2 separate regions of the Homo sapiens genome follow, and region 2 is linked to region 1. Evidence: promoter capture Hi-C in human tissues and cell types (Jung and others, 2019). All regions are on one chromosome and are shown on one strand. The core of a region is centred on a gene start or on the middle of the fragment in contact, and the rest is flanking DNA. Distances in the headings are between cores, read along the strand shown. Region 1 holds the start of KCNB2 (potassium voltage-gated channel subfamily B member 2). Region 2 has its middle 210 kb from the start of KCNB2.

What was found. Contacts are between HindIII fragments. The study calls those that stand out against the background at their distance.
Region 2: a contact is called between a fragment that was not itself captured here and the fragment with the promoter of KCNB2 in region 1, in 2 of the 25 tissues and cell types used here (H1 embryonic stem cells and thymus).

The regions. Positions count from the first base shown.
Region 1 is chr8:72,535,901-72,538,600 of GRCh38, forward strand. It overlaps KCNB2 (potassium voltage-gated channel subfamily B member 2), which reads left to right and starts at 1,325. Exons shown (of 3, transcript NM_004770.3): 1 at 1,325-1,985. RefSeq lists silencers at 915-1,044, 1,055-1,104, 1,115-1,174, 1,335-1,384. The HindIII fragment of the contact is 6,044 bases long and covers 1-2,700 here.
Region 2 is chr8:72,328,222-72,330,921 of GRCh38, forward strand. No RefSeq gene overlaps it. Among named protein-coding and RNA genes, the nearest start is that of KCNB2, 210 kb to the right of the region's middle. The HindIII fragment of the contact is 5,726 bases long and covers 1-2,700 here.

The DNA.
Region 1 (2,700 bases), core at 75-2,574:
TAATGGGTGCAGCACACCAACATGGCACATGTATACATATGTAACAAACCCACATGTACCCTAAAACTTAAAAGTATAATAATAATAAAATTTAAAAAAACACTCAATAAACAGAAGATACAAGGAAAAAATAAATAAATAAATAAATAAATAAATATAAATAAAACAGTGTACTTGGAACTTCCTCAACAGCCATCCTTCTTGGTCTATAGAAACTCAGGAGTCCCAGCTTTAAATAGACTTGTCACGGCCTGCGTTCGTTTCTAAAAGGTGTTTTAAGCTACTTTGTTTTCCTGAAAGCCCCTGTAACCGTGCCAGCTGTCTCTATTTCGTGCCTGTGAAGGAGCACTGGGGTCAGAAATATGTAAGGCTCAGTGTTATTATTCAAGTTCATTGTCTTTACCGAGCCCTGGAAGTGGGTACAGGTCTAAGTGTTCACCCTGCGGCCTCGCCAAGGGGTAACTTGGCATAGTTTTCCAGCTGGTAAGTTGATAGGCAAAGGAAAGAAAGAAGGGTATGAAGAGCGCCCCCGTGAGAAGCAAGGGTTAAGGTTGCCACGGACCCGGCTTTACCCTCAAACCCAGGAAAGCCGGGTCACTTGGGGCTAGGGACGGCCCCCGAGCGAGCGGGGCTGCAGGTGCCGCGAGGAAAGTCAGATCTTATCTGCGCTCCTAGTTATCTCCGCAGCTCTTTCTCCAGGAAAATAATCCTGGCACCACCACTCAGGAGCCATCTGTCTTCGCCCCAGTTCCCCGGGGTCGAGCAGTCAGCCCAGGGTCAGGGTCCTGCTGTGGGCGGGCGGGAGGACAGCCCTGCAGTTGGAAGCAGAAGGGCCGAGGGAATCCCGCGAAGCCGCCGGAGCGCGTCGCGGCGGGGCCTCCCGGGGCTTTCCCGGCCCCGGGTGCGCGGCAGCCGCGGGGGCTGCGTCCCTCTAGTCCAGTGCAGCCGGGTGGGAGCTGCAGAGCGAAGCAGGTGGGTGTGGAGCCAGGCCCGGGGCAGCAGGAGTGGCTGGCGCGCGGAAGCTGAGGGAGGCACCCCGCCGAGGTGTGGGCGGTGCCTGCCCGCGCCCCAGCCGCGCCCTGGGCACCAGAGCGCTGTCCCCGGCCGAGCGCACAGCTCCGGCGCCGCGAGGCAGAGCCCCGGCGTCCCCGGCGGTGCGCTGCCGGCTCGCGCAGCCCAGCCATCCCGCCCCGCCGCCCACCTTGACAGCCGGGAGCGCTGAGGAGGAAGAGGGGGAGGGGGAGGAGGAAGAGAAGGCGGCGGCCGCTCCAGCCCGCGGGTGCGCGGAGCGCGGGAGGAGGCGGAGCGGGAGGCTGGGGTGGCCGCAGCCCTGTGTGCGCGCCGGGCCGGCTAGCTGCGGGGCGGGGGAGCGGCGCCCCAGAGCGCCCCGCCTAGCCTCCCGCGCGCAGCCTCTACCCTGCTCCGCCACAGACACACACCCACCAAGCACCCACCGCCCTCCGCCCTCCGCCCTCCGCCCCCGCGGCCGCCGCCGCCGCTGCGCCTCGGGCAGCCCCAGCGAGCGGCAACTCCCGGGCTGGCGCGGCTCGCTTTCTGGCTCCTTCCGCGCGGCGAGCTCAGCCCCGCTCGATTTTTCCTCTTCTGTTCCAGCCCTCTCTTGTCTGGGTGGCTGTGGCGGCGGCAGGGGGATGGGGACCCCGTGTGGGGAAGGGGTTGAAGATCGATGAAGATTATTGTTCTTTTAAAGGATGCCTTAGCTTCCTCCCGCCGCCTTTCCTCTGAGCCTTCCTACTAGAGACCGTGAACCAGAGTCAGGGATGTAAAGACAGGGGGAAAGCACGCCGGGAGCTCCAGCCAGCCGGGGAGACCCTCCTCTCTGTGGAGGGGAGGGGGATTTCCAGCGACAGGTCATTGGCGAAGGGGATCGTCGCGGGGAGAGGCTCCCCGGAGGGAGCGGGGAATCCCACAGCCCTTTGTGGTGCCCGAGCCCGTGCCGCCTGCTGAGCGGGGTCTGTGGGAGCTAGGTAAGTGGCGGGGGCATTGCTGCTCCCCGAAGGGGGTCTTCCTTTAAGAATGAATCATCGCGGCAGCCTAGCCAGACTTGAGTTGCTAAAGGAATTGGAAACTGCCATATGGCGCCCAGTGGACTTACACACAAAGCTGACTTAGCCCTGAGAGGGTTTTTAATGTCAGGCTCCTTCCCGGTGGGGAAGGCGCTCAAGTATTAGCCCCTGAAAAGCTTCCCAGCAGCCTGACTGGGAAGGGATGGGGATGTTATTTCTAGGAGCCGAGCTCTTGTTGCCTTCCGTCCATTTGTTGGTAAATGCCACACTCACATGCACACACTTGTGGGACTGGATTTAGGGAGTGTGATGTCTCTGATGTATGAACGATCCTCAGAACACAGAGACATGCGTGCATTTTATTCTTCAAGCGGTGCGCGGTCTCCGTTCTGTAGCACGATTCCTGAGAGGGAGAACGGGTCTCTAAGGAAAGAGCTTCATGGCTGTTTCCAACACACTCTGCTAGGGGACTTGGGAATACGTTTGCCCTGAATAGCACCAAAAGACATCGACCATTTGCCTCATCATTTGCTCCCGATGCTTAATGATCCTCTTCAAAATAGTATGCCGCCATCCATTTTCTCGAGTTGTGAGCATTTATGCGTATTCATTCATAAAAACTGTCAGTGTGCAATATGCACAAACATGCCATTTATGCAACATTTATGACTGCACA
Region 2 (2,700 bases), core at 181-2,680, 210 kb before region 1:
CTGGCAGAGGAAAGGATTAGAATAATGACATAACTTTCTACAATATGTAAGACCATGTACACCCAACATCACATCAACGATCATACAATTGAAAATGTGGTTTAATCGTATCCGTAGATATGTTTTGTCATAGGTGAGACCCACACTTCAATAGCAACAATAAAAAATGAATTAGTATTTAGATTATAAATTCTAGCACAAACACCATATCTGCTTTAACATTCATTGAATTTATTGAAATAAAACCAGTCATATAAAATGACTTAATGATGATCTTAAGGAATGTCCTGTAGTTCTCAGTGTATGTTTAGGACTTCCTGGTTTCCCACTCTTACCGTAGACCAGGGGATTACAGCCTGTGCCTGTTCCCTTCAGGACCCAGCAGGTGGATGTTGCATGTTACCCTCTCTTATCTTGTAAGTTACTTGCCAATCAAGAAGTTGAACAATCGCCTATGTTCTTCATATAAGACAGCAGAACATTCCAGGCCTCTCTTGGTTCAAAAACTTCTCAGTATTGGCCTAGAGGCTTTGACATCTCTGCCTCACTTGGAATTTGCAGTGGCTCAAAGTCATAGCTTTAGGGATGCAAGAACGTAAGCTTCACCTCGAACATAAACTTCACCTCCAACTTTTGACTCCGTTTATATTTGTCAACTATTTGTTTCTGGCCTGCTTCTTCTCTGTCTTGATTTTTTTTTTGACTGTGCAATTTATTTACTTTAATTCTGCTTTTTTTAAATTATACTCTATGTTCTAGGGTATATGCACAACGTGCAGGTTTGTTACATATATATACATGTGCCATGTTGGTGTGCTGCACCCATTAACTCGTCATTTACATTAGGTATATCTCCTAATGCTATCCCTCCCCCCTCCCCCCACCCCACGACAGGCCCCGGTGTGTGATGTTCCCCTTCCTGTGACATCTTGATTTTGGTGCCAAATTAGTCCTTCACAAGAACCAGTGTAAAAGTAGGCCTTGCTGTTTATTCTAAGTTTTTCTTAAATCTTCTGATTTTCTTCCTAGGTATGTCTGCATAAGCTTAACTATAATCAGTCCCTTTTTAGATCTAAATTTTATTGGTGCTCCTAGTATGTTATCAGGAGAATAGGTTTTGCTGCACATCATAAAAATCTGGATTCCAACAGGCTTAAACTATCCATTATTCCACATAGCAAGAGGTCCAGAGACAAGGCAGCCTTCAAGTTCGGTTGACTTGGTGATGTCATCAAGGATTCAGGATCATTTCACCTCTTCTCATCCATTCTTAGTTTAGGCTCCATTCTCAGGCTGGTAGAAATACAGCTGCAGCAGTTCTAGTTTTCTCATTCTGACACAGTATCTAGAAGGGAAGAGACCATCCTTTCCTTGAGGTCTCTCTTTGAGCCAAGGAAATGTTTCCTGAAGGTCCCTGCAGACTTCCTCTCATGTCTCATTGGTCATATGCCCATGCTTGAACCCCTCACTGGCAAGAGGGATGGATCTGCAATGATGGCCTCAGGTCAGTCACCTGGGTAGAATGAATGTCAGGGAATCAGCCACAATATTCATATGTAGTGAATTTCTTCCAAATTTGTTTAAATAGTGATGATGGTGGCATACTATCTGGTTGTGTGCATAGTGCCATGACATTAGTATGTTGCAAACAAAGAAATATTTTACATGGTATAGTATGCTCCAGATTCTTGGGTGCAGAACTAAAAAGTATATTTGATGCAATGTTCCTGTTACATTTGCAAGACCTACTACATGCTGGAGTTCTCTGATACAATGCTAATAAACTTATCCAAAGCTAAAATTTGAATGAATTGTATTATCTACTTTATCCTTGTAGAATAAGAATGCATCCTTTAAATATTAGTTGTAATAGGAATGTTAAGTGATGCTTTTCACTGTTGCTTAATTTTAGCAGAGGCCACAGGGGCTGAAAAAGAAAAATCAGAGAAATCGGTCTGGCCATGCAGGATATGCTAAGAGACTGTGATTCTGTTTTTGCCAGCATTAATAGATCGTTCTCCTCCATATCACCAAAAAGAAGAAAGTTAAAGGCACCAGTAGATTACTTTGCTGAAGGTTGTCACTGAGTGTGTGTTCCTTTCCTTTGCTATGGGTGAGTGGAGATGGGTGTACTGCAAGAGAGGGAAGCTGCAAGAGCACCACTCACAGAGCTTGGCATATGCCCGTAAGTATTTGGAGGAGGTAGCGACCGGTATTTGATGCCTACCTGAAAATGTCTAATGGGGAAGGGCTTGCCAACCACTCTGAAGGCAGAGCAAGGAGAGCTTACTACACAGTCAGAGGAAGCTGCTTTCCTACCAAAAGCAAGGACAAAGTATGTTTCCCATGATGACCAAAACCCACAGGAGGATGGTGGTCATGAGTCTTCTTAACAGTGATGTGAGTAAGAAGAAAACAAGGAAATTGGAGTGTGGTGGAAGCCAAAGAAAGAATGGGCAGCAATTACAAACGTTTATTAGATATCAAATGCCCATTGGATTTGGTGTGAAGTTCATTGGTACCTTTGGTGGTGAAGGAGCAAGCCAGGCTGTAGCAGACTGCATTTTCACAGTGATCAGTTGTAAGTTTAGTGAAAAGGAATCGAGGGAATTTCCATCTGTATTCATTATTTGTTGCTTCATAACAAGATCCCCCTTACCCTCAAAACCTAACAGCTTAACACAGCACACATTCATTATT